Linked DNA regions of Homo sapiens: region 1 is linked to region 2. Evidence: promoter capture Hi-C in 16 types of primary human blood cells and fetal thymus (Javierre and others, 2016). All regions are on one chromosome and are shown on one strand. Each heading gives the region's core, a stretch centred on a gene start or on the middle of the fragment in contact. The rest is flanking DNA. Distances are from core to core; before and after follow the strand shown. Region 1 overlaps CEP55 (centrosomal protein 55). Region 2 holds the start of CYP26C1 (cytochrome P450 family 26 subfamily C member 1).

The links. The method cuts DNA at HindIII sites, captures the fragments that hold promoters and counts their contacts. A CHiCAGO score of 5 or more calls a contact.
Region 1: a fragment that was not itself captured here is called in contact with the fragment with the promoter of CYP26C1 in region 2 in 4 of 17 cell types (endothelial precursors, M2 macrophages, M1 macrophages and 1 more); the score reaches 10.5 in endothelial precursors.

The regions. Positions count from the first base shown.
Region 1 is chr10:93,508,988-93,514,044 of GRCh38, forward strand. The region is part of intron 4 of CEP55 (centrosomal protein 55); the gene reads left to right. It also overlaps the pseudogene RNA5SP323. Among named protein-coding and RNA genes, the nearest start is that of CEP55, 15 kb to the left of the region's middle. RefSeq lists a silencer at 2,365-2,659. The HindIII fragment of the contact is 3,350 bases long and covers 1,024-4,373 here.
Region 2 is chr10:93,058,779-93,063,942 of GRCh38, forward strand. It overlaps CYP26C1 (cytochrome P450 family 26 subfamily C member 1), which reads left to right and starts at 2,020. Exons shown (of 6, transcript NM_183374.3): 1 at 2,020-2,689; 2 at 3,232-3,456; 3 at 3,942-4,217. The coding sequence starts at 2,486. It overlaps EXOC6 (exocyst complex component 6), which reads left to right. Exons shown (of 22, transcript NM_019053.6): 22 at 1-712. RefSeq lists enhancers at 2,038-2,947, 3,901-4,020, 4,031-4,200. The HindIII fragment of the contact is 6,240 bases long and covers 1-5,164 here.

The sequences.
Region 1 (5,057 bases), core at 1,449-3,948, 450 kb after region 2:
CAGTGTCTAGAACATTTGAAAGAATGACTGGATGGAATCTTGGGAAGTTTCTTGAATTTTACTGGTGTCTCTTCTAGAAAAGTACCTGAAAATAGATGCCATTATCTTAAGCTTACATGTGCTTTTTAGGCATCTCAGTGCTAACTGCTTCAGATATCACCTGAGGGTATTTTTAGATAATGATGATTCTTTTTTATGAAATTAACTTTGAAATACTACATATGTAAGCCCAAGCTTTTTGTTCTATCTTCTCAGCTTATTTAAGGGTCACATTGTGCTTGTCTCCTCTGTCTTAGAAAGGCGTTTATACAAATGGGGTAAAATTTAACCCAACTCTTCTACAAATGGTGGTCTAGACTGAGCAAGATTCACAGACTCTAATATACTAGGTCTGGGGTAGTGCCTGAGTTTTCTGCATTTCCAGTAAACTCCTAGCTGCTGCTGCTGCTGGCCCTTGGACCACGCTTTGAGAACCATTAACATTATTATTATTATTATTATTATTATTATTATTTTGAGATGGAGTCTCACTCTGTCACTCAGGTTGGAGTGCAGTGGCGCGATCTTGGCTCATTGCAACCTCCGTCTCCTGGTTTCAAGTGATTCTCATGCCTCAGCCTCCTGAGTAACAGGGATTACAGGTGCGTGCCACCATGCCCAGCTGATTTTTGTACTTTTAGTAGAGACAGGGTTTCGCCATGTTGGCCAGGCTGGTCTCCAACTCCTGACCTCAGATGACCCACCTGCCTCAGCCTCCCAAAGTGCTGGGATTACAGGTGTGAGTCATTACACCCAGCCAGAACTTATATTTGAGGAGCAAGAAGTGGTTTAGCTCTGGTTTTCCCTTTGGAATTTCAGCAAATCTTTGAGACCAGGGGGAAAATTGTAGTTGGAGGACTTAGGGAACATGGAAAGAGACATCTCACTTCTTGCAGCACCGACACTGGCACATTATTTGGCTTTTGAGAGCTCAGCAGTTCTAGTTCCATCACCCTCTCAAAGTTCGCAGAAACTTCCTGTAGAAGCTTACCCACGTATTTTCAGAATTAGTATTTGTTATATTTAAATAAGCCCTAAAAGCTACGTACAGCTTCTTTAGGCCCAGTTGTATCATTGTTCAGTTACCATTTCGCTCTGGCCGACAGTTGAAATAATTACGTAGAGTTAATGTCGTAAGCATTGTCAAATGTCAGTACTTTTAGTATTTATTTAAGCATTATGTTAGTATAAACTAGACAAACCAAATAGCCAAAAGACAGTTTTAATAGGCGTTTCTTGCTCTTAAATTCAAATATCCGAATTTTAAGCATAGAACTTAGGGAAGATAAATAATAATTGTTTTAAAATTATTTTGTCTGCAAACATTCAAATTAACAGAAAAGTTACAAGAATGAGTATGATAACATATAATAACATATAACGCCCATATCCCCTTTACTAAAATTCAACCGTTGTTAACATGTTACCCCATTTTGCACTCTGTTTTTCCTCTTTCAACCCTCACCCACACACATATACATGTAGTATTTTTTTCTGAACCATTTGAGAATGAATTGTACATATCCACAGCCGTTTAAACCCATATACTTCAATGTGTGTTTGTTCTCCCATCCAAGTACTAAACAGACTCAACGCTGCTTAGCTTCCAAGATCAGCCAAGATCAGGCGCGTTCAGGGTGGTATGGCCGTAGACTTCAATGTGTATTTCTTAAGAACGAGGATACTCTTGCCCACAACTATAGCACAGATAGCAACTTTAATAAATTTAACATGGATACAATACTTCTATAATCTACCATTCCTACTGCAGTTTTGTCAATTGACCCACATTTTTTATTCCTCCAGTATAGGCTAACATTTTAATCTACGTTGGTTGGAATTTTTGTCTACAGAATATTTAGTGGATTCTTGTCAAACCTGGGCGAAGACCTTTATAGCATTCCACAGGACTTTTTTTTTTTTTTTTTTTGAGACAGAGTCTCACTCTGTCGCCGAGGCTGTAGTGCAGTGGCACGGTCTCAGCTCACTGCAACCTCTGCCTCCCTGGTTCAAGCGATTCTTCTGCCTCAGCCTCCAGAGTAGCTGGGATTACAGGCACCTGCCATTGCGCCTGGCTAATTTTTTTTTATTTTTAGTAGAGACGGGGTTTCACCATGTTGGCCAGGCTGGTCTTGAACTCCTGACCTCGTGATCTGCCTGCCTCAGCCTCCCAAAGTGCTGGGATTACAGGCGTGAGCCACCATGCCCGGACTCCACAGGACATGTTATTTTGCCCACTTTTGTTCTACATTTTTATTGGTAACTTGGAGGAAATTGTTAAATGCATGCCTAACAAACGTATAGATGACACAAAGCTGGAAGGCATATCTAATGCAATGATGTTTGACTCTAAAAACTCAAAACTAATACAATCAATATTTATGATAGCTATCAACTCCGTGTATTGATACTGATAGAAAGCCGATGCACACAGTGAGAAGAGGTGGCATAAGGAAATGTTTATTGAGGGAACATCGCCATCATGTGGCCTTTTAGAATACTACCCCTTGAATCTTCAACTAACATGTATTTTTGTTTCTCATACTTAAGTGATGTATGGTTCCTTTTTTTTTAATTAATTAATTTATTTTTTTGAGATGGAGTTTCGCTCCGTTGCCCAGGCTGGAGTGCAGTGGCACAATCTCAACTCACTGCAACCTCCACCTCCTGGGCTCAAGTGATTCTCTTGCCTCAGCGTCCGGAGTAGCTGGGACCACTGGCGCCCGCCACCATACCTGGCTAATGTTTTGTATTTTTAGTAGAGACGGGGTTTCACCATATTGGCCAGGCTGGTCTCGAACTCCTGACCTTGTGATATGCCCGCCTCGGCCTCCCAAAGTGCTGGGATTACAGGCGTGAGCCACTGCACCCAGCTGGTTCCTTTAAAAGAAAAGAAAAATAAAATAAATAAAATAAAATTGGGCTGGCGCAGTGGCTCACGTCTGTAATTCCAGCATTTTGGGAGGACAAGAAGGGCAGATCACCTGAGATCAGGAGTTCGAGACCAGCTGGGCCAACATGGTGATACCCCGTCTCTAATAAAAATACAAAAAAGCTGGGCGTGGTGGTACACGCCTGTAATCCCAGCTACTCGGGAGGCTGAGGCAGGAGAATTGCTGGAACCCGGGAGGCAGAGTTTCCAGTGAGCTGAAATCATGCCACTGTATTCCAGCCGGGGCCACAGAGCGAGACTCCGTTTCAAAAAAAAAAAAAATTGGCCGGGCTCAGTGGCTCATGCCTGCAATCCCAGCACTTTGGGAGGCCAAGGCGGGCAGATCACCTGAGGTCAGGAGTTGAGACCAACATGGTGAAACCCCATCTCTACTAAAAATACAAAATTAGCTGGGTGTGGTGGCGCATGCCTGTAATCCCAGCTACTCGGGAGGCTGAGGCAAGAGAATCGCTTGAACCCGGGAGGTGGAGGTTGCAGTGAGCCAAGATGGCACCATTGCACTCCAGCCTGGGCAACAAGAGTGAAACTCCGTCTCAAAAAAAAAAAAAAAAAAAAAAATTTCATGACCATTTAATTTTGACTTAAATTATTTGTATTAAAATACTACTTAAATGTGGACAAATGTAAAATTTAGTATAAAATTAGGTATCTTTAGTATCTAACACACTATAATTTATAGGTATTTGGATATACATGTGCATTGTGAGTCATACAGTGCTTCCTCTCTTATCAAGTAAATTTAAATCTGATCCTGGGTTTCTCATGAGTCCTTTCTTTTGAAAGATGCATAGGTTCTGAGTAAGAACCTCACTGGGGATGGCAGTGGAGCTGAATAAGAGAGTGACTACTGCAGCCTGTTTTAAGATAGGCCAAGAATCCTAGCAATCTTCTCAACTGTACTAAGTTCACTGATTATTTTTCCCAACTTTTATGATTATTTTTCCCAATTTTTATTACGAAAAATGTCAAACATACACAAAAGTTAAAAGAAAATACATTGAACAATCATATATCTACCACGAAGTTTCAATAAGACAGACTCTTTAAATCAAAAATCAAATTACTACAGTGAAAACAGCCATCCACAGAGCTTTACACTATTGACGATATATAATACAAAATGGATATACAATATCTCCACTTGACAAATGGACTCTTAAGCCATGTAAAGAGGACTACTGTTCCCTAATGGATGCAGAGAGAAAAGTGTCTGGTAAAGTGGCTGAGGCTCCTGGGCTAAGTCTTTGATTTTAGAGACTGTTTCTGTCTTCCTAATTCATTTGCTAATTCTATAGCAAACAGACACTGAAAATCCTTTAAGTGCCATACCCAGGAGCTTTGCTCAAGAGTTTGTAGGGTGCTAGTAGAAAGAGCCTAACAAAGCTTAGAGAAACTCTCTAGACTTAATAAGAGTTTCCATACATGTAGATCTTTCTGGATATGGGACTCAATCAATGTCTTTAAAGGATGGAAATTCTTACCGGAAAGCAGTTGCCCTGATAGACACCCAAAACCTTTAAGCTCCTTATGTCCTCTTCATTGTGGAACTAGAGGTCTGGAAAGAGTGGCTGCTATAAAAGGAAACACTATATTGTATTGTCAGATTGAAATTAAATAGAAGAATTTTATCTATGCATAATAGATCATTTTAAGAGCTACTGTGTTGTTCTCCAAATAGTAATCAGAAATCTGTATTCCACTCTTGAAAAAATGAGCTTTGCTGATACTGTTATAGGTTCTTCGAAGTTCAGATTACTATGAGCTCTGGATTTATAGCAAGTCCTCTGGTGTGAAATGAACTGGTTACAATCCCTGCCATACAAAGCTTCTGTCTTCACATGGCCTCATTCTCTATGTATATCTGTGTGTCTGCTCCTTTTTATAAGGATACTAGTCATTGGATTTAGGGCTCACCCTACTCCAGTATGGCCTCATTTTAACTAATTGCATCTGCAAAGCCTCCCCCTCCCCTTTTTTTTTTTTGAGACGGGGTCTCACTCTATTGTCTAGGTTGGAGTGCAGTGGCGCAATCTTGGCTCACTGCAACCTCCGCCTCCCGCATTCA
Region 2 (5,164 bases), core at 770-3,269:
ACTTTTAGCTTTTATTTTCACCTCAATGTGATTTAAGCAGACCAAAATTTCTAATTCTGCTAATTCTGAAGGGGAAATAGACAAATCTTAAAAGCTGCCTGAAATCAAACTTGATTTAACTCAGTAAGAATGTGAATTATTTGTTCTACTTGGGTGGTTTAATTTAATCGTTCTGAATATGAACAAAAGGTTTTGGATTTTCTAAAGATGCAGTGTTGTTTCTGTTCATCAGGGTTAATATTTCTAACTATATTGCTTGTAGGTGACCCCATTCTGGATTTGTTTGGTTTGGTTTGGTTCCAGTTAAAAGAGAGGACAGGAACTAAATGGGGCTAACCACTTCAGGTGCAGCTTGTGCGAGGGTAGATGGTTCCTGCACACAGAAGTTACCACAGGGGTCAGGTTACTTTCTTCAAATAGCAGATTTCAGTACTTTATCCTCATTGTGGAAACAAGCCAAACCAAATGAACTCTGGAAAACCTAAAACAAATGTACATTTTCCTTTGTGTATGTTTCCGTGGTCCAAATGGCAATATAAATCCAGTCTTTATTCTCCCTTTGTTGTATTTATGCTGAATCTTCCCTTTGCCTTTTCAGGATTTAGGCCTGTAAGAAACTATGCCTGATTCTGTAAAATAAGTGTAAAGAATTATATGTACATCTCTGGATTTTGTGATGAAATATTAAAAATATTGAGCAAGTTGTTGAAAATGCATTACTATTTTGTCTATTCAGAGCTTACTGATTTAAAACAAGTGCTTCCTGGAGAAAAGGCATATTATTTCCTAGTTACTGGAATGGGAGTGGCACCAAAACAGTATATATACATACACACACACACACACACACATATATATACATATGCGCACTTGTTCTCTCGATCATCTCTTAATCCAAAGTATTTAATGTTTTTAAAAATATTACATGAAAAGCATGGTAGTTCTTCAGGCACGGTGAAATCTGGAGGAGAGGAGCGGTGAACAGCTAGCTCTCTTTGAAGACTGGAATGGGGCTGCCCTTCGCGCCTTACCCAGCCTTCCAGCGTACTTGGGGTGTCTTCCCTGCTTTGGCTGAGACGTCCCGGGATTCAGAGAGATACTGCCTTTGCACTGCCTGGAGGAGACCACTGTGGGACCTCTTTACTCTTACCAATAATATAAACACCCTGCACCCCTCCACACACACCCCAGGTTGCACTGTAGGGACAAGAACGAGTGAGTCCTGAGGCATTTGGAACCCTTGAATGGGACGCACAAAGCCCAAAACGCAACAATGTAGATTGACAAGAGTCGTCGGGCAAACTCGGGGGAGGGAGGGAAGGATGTGCAGGGAAGGATGAATTCGGTCCTTGAGACCGGAAAGGTGCTCGTGGGTATCCGCTTCTGGAGGCTTAGGACGTCTTTATGAAGCCTAGGGCAGTAGTGGAACTGCCATCTTTGGAAGGATACCTGACGTGGTAGATCAGAGAGCCGGGAGAGGTGGGGAGCTGTCGGAGAATCTCGGCTGCGCTATCCCTCCTGGGCTTTTGCGATGCCAACGCAGGCGTCGACGACTGCAGTTTCCCTGAAATAGTCGGAGCAAAGGAGAGAAAAGCCCAGTTCTTTCACCTTGGAGTGGCGAGAGAAAGGCACCTAGAAGCTCGAGGGCGGGGACGGCAGAGGGAGCCAGCGGCCGGGGGTGGGCCAGGAGCACTGCGGGGCGCAAGCCCGGGTCAGTTCTGCGCGTTGGGTTCGCCCACTTTCTGAGCGCCTGCGAAGAGCGGGGAAGCTCTGGCGCGAACCCGCAGGCCCCGCCCGAGGACGCTCGCGGGGCGAGCCCCCAGCCCAGCTCGAGCCGCCCCGGCGCCTGCCACTCCCTACTCAGAGCCCCTCCGTGAGCGCGCCGCTGCCCACCGCCTCCAATCACCACTCTGCGTGGAGCGCTTTAAATATGCAAAGACACGTCACGTTGTGTGAACCGGGATCGGTCCGTAGGGGGGGAGCCAATATCTATATAAACGTGTCCAGCGTGGGCCAAGAAGGGTTAAACGACTGGAGGAGGGACAGGTGGGGCGGGGGTCTGCAGACCAGGTTGGCAACACTGGTGAGTTGCTCTTCTTTCGCCCTCCTTCCCTTCTTCTATCCAAAGGGTGCTGAGCCCGGGAGGAGGTGGGAGGTGCCCCGCGGAGCCGGGAGTGAGCGTTCCCGAGGCAGCAGGCACCTTCGAGAGGGACTGGCATTTGGGCCCAGGAGCCAGGAAAAAGTCCTGAGCGTGCCGGCCTCGAGGAAGGCACGTTCCCTAAGGGCGCACGGTCACTGCAGTCTTTCACCGTCCGTCTGTTTTTAGAACAGAGTTCTGGCCTGAGCTTATAAATCTCGGGCTTTGCCCCCAAACCCCAGGCCTTTTGCGGACGGAACAGGTGAGCACTGCGCACTGCTCGCGCCCCGGTTCTTGCGTCCCCTGCTCTCCCTGCGCTCTGAGCGGCCTGGCCCCCGCGGGCTCATCATGTTCCCTTGGGGGCTGAGCTGCCTGTCAGTGCTGGGGGCGGCGGGCACTGCTCTCCTGTGCGCGGGCCTGCTGCTCAGCCTGGCCCAGCACCTCTGGACCCTCCGCTGGATGCTGAGCCGGGACCGGGCCTCCACCCTGCCTCTGCCCAAGGGCTCCATGGGGTGGCCCTTCTTCGGCGAAACGCTGCACTGGTTAGTTCAGGTGAGCAGTCCTTCGACCCCGAGCGCTAATACGGTCCCTTCTTCCCCCGGCTCCCACTGGACCCTCCTCAGTCTCAATGCCCATGGGATTTGTAGCCAGTCCCTGCCCATCGCCCACGACCCCGGGAAGCGCGCACAACTCTCGCCTTTACCTAGATACTCCGTTCCCTCGAAGGGACCTCAAGTCACTGGAATTCCCCCCAGAGCAACTCCCAGACACAACGCAGGGGGTAAACATAAGGGGTTTTAGGAAGGGGTCTGAGGAGCACGTCCTGCAAGGGTAGAAAAGGAGCCTGGAGCTTGGCCCAGCTGTGAGCCCTTGGGCCCTCACTTCTTCACTCTGAGTCTGTTTCCTCATCTCACCAATAGGAACAGGAGCATGTACATTCCCGTAGAGTAGATACCAGGCCCACTGGGGATCTTGTTTTGTAAACGCGCCAGCCAGGGACAGGAAGTTGTGATCAAAAGGCAGCTGGAAGGTCTGGGTCAGATCCCAGCCCAGGCCCAGAAGTTCCAGCTCTCCACCCTCCGCCTCGCCCGCAGGGCTCGCGCTTCCACAGTTCTCGCCGAGAGCGCTATGGGACAGTGTTCAAGACGCACCTGCTGGGCAGGCCAGTGATCCGCGTGAGCGGCGCGGAGAACGTGCGCACCATCCTGCTGGGCGAGCACCGCCTGGTGCGCAGCCAGTGGCCGCAGAGTGCGCACATCCTGCTGGGCTCGCACACACTGCTAGGTGCGGTCGGCGAGCCGCACCGGCGGCGGCGCAAGGTGAGTGGAAACGGGAATGGACCGTAGATACGTCGGATCCGCGGTCCCCGGCATCTGCCATGGGCCAGGCCGGGGCCCCGGTGTTGGATACACTGTGAACCCGACCAAGGTCCCTGGTAACTAGCGGGTGGCCTTGGGCGGGTCCGTTACCTTCAGCTTCGGTTTATAAAGTTAGGACTGCGCTAAAAGATTCTTTCATCTCCCATCTTCCGTGGCTGTGATAGCAGAAGCGCTGGAGACTCAGACCTAGAAAGGGGCCAGGGAAGACTTCTTAGAGGAGATGGCAGCTGGAGCCTGGATGGTTGGGAGGGACTGTGTGCATCAGAGCAGAACTGGGGGAAATGGCGAAAGCAAAAGCCAGGAAGTTTAGGTCTGGGCCGCTTGGAAGAGGGAGAAAGGACCGGAACTGGCCTTCTGGCTACTCCGGAATCGCCAAGCAGATGAGGCCAGACCGCCGCCAGCGCTGATCACGCGCGCTCCCACAGGTCCTGGCGCGCGTGTTCAGCCGCGCCGCGCTGGAGCGCTACGTGCCGCGCCTGCAGGGGGCGCTGCGGCATGAGGTGCGCTCCTGGTGCGCGGCGGGCGGGCCGGTCTCAGTCTACGACGCCTCCAAAGCGCTCACCTTCCGCATGGCCGCGCGCATCCTGCTGGGGTTGCGGCTGGACGAGGCGCAGTGCGCCACGCTGGCCCGGACCTTCGAGCAGCTCGTGGAGAACCTCTTCTCACTGCCTCTGGACGTTCCCTTCAGTGGCCTACGCAAGGTACGGCCGCCCCGGCTCCAGACCTTCCTCCGAGGCTCCGCGGCGCGGGCGGGCCTCCCAGACCCAGACGGGACGCCCTCGGCGCACCCCGCGCGTCCGTCACCTCTGCTGGGAACGGCGGCAGGGCCCGGGGGTGGGAGGCGTTGTGGCGGTGGCGTGGCGGTGGGCTCTGGGCCTGGCCTCTGTGCTGGTTCGCTGGTGTGACCTGGGGCTGGCCACACGACCTCCGTGGGACGCGCCTGCCGCGACGCGCTCCAGCCTGAGCAAGCGCGGGCCGCCAGAGTTTGGGGTCTCGGTGGCAGGCGTCCTGCCAGTCGGTCGGACTCCTTCCCACAGCGGCGCCCCTGGGGCCGGCCTCCATCACCTCTTCGGAAGCCCAGATGGCTGCGGAACCGAGGAGAGCGTGAGGGCTGCAGATGAGCCCCGGTCCAGCCCAGCGCCAGCCCCGGACCCAGGGGTGTGGGCGTCAGCTCCACCAGCCCTGGACCCGCTAGGTTTCGGGATCAGAGAACTGCTGCTTCTCCAGACTTCAGAACAATGGGCAGGACCCGGAGAGCAGCTAGGATGCCCCATCCCGCCTTTTGGTCCCCCTATTCTGGGACTTCCCACTGTTTGATTCCCTGGTTTTCAGTCACCTGCATAAAAATAATATGTGTAAAGGATCATGCTATAGGCTGATCACCGTGGATACGTTTTCTGATCTAATCCTCGCAGCCTGCAAAGTGTTATGATTCTCATTTTATTGGCCAAACTTATTTTATTGACTTACCCAAGATCACACCGTTAGTAGGGGCACGAACAGGACTTTAACCTCATCTCCTCCGACTATGGAACTCAAGTGCTGAATTACAGTGCTTTCCCCGGGGGAATGCTTTTGCTGCGGCTATTCCCTGAACTCTGGAGAGGCATCCCCTATTGCCCACGCTCTTACAGAGGCTAATGCTTAC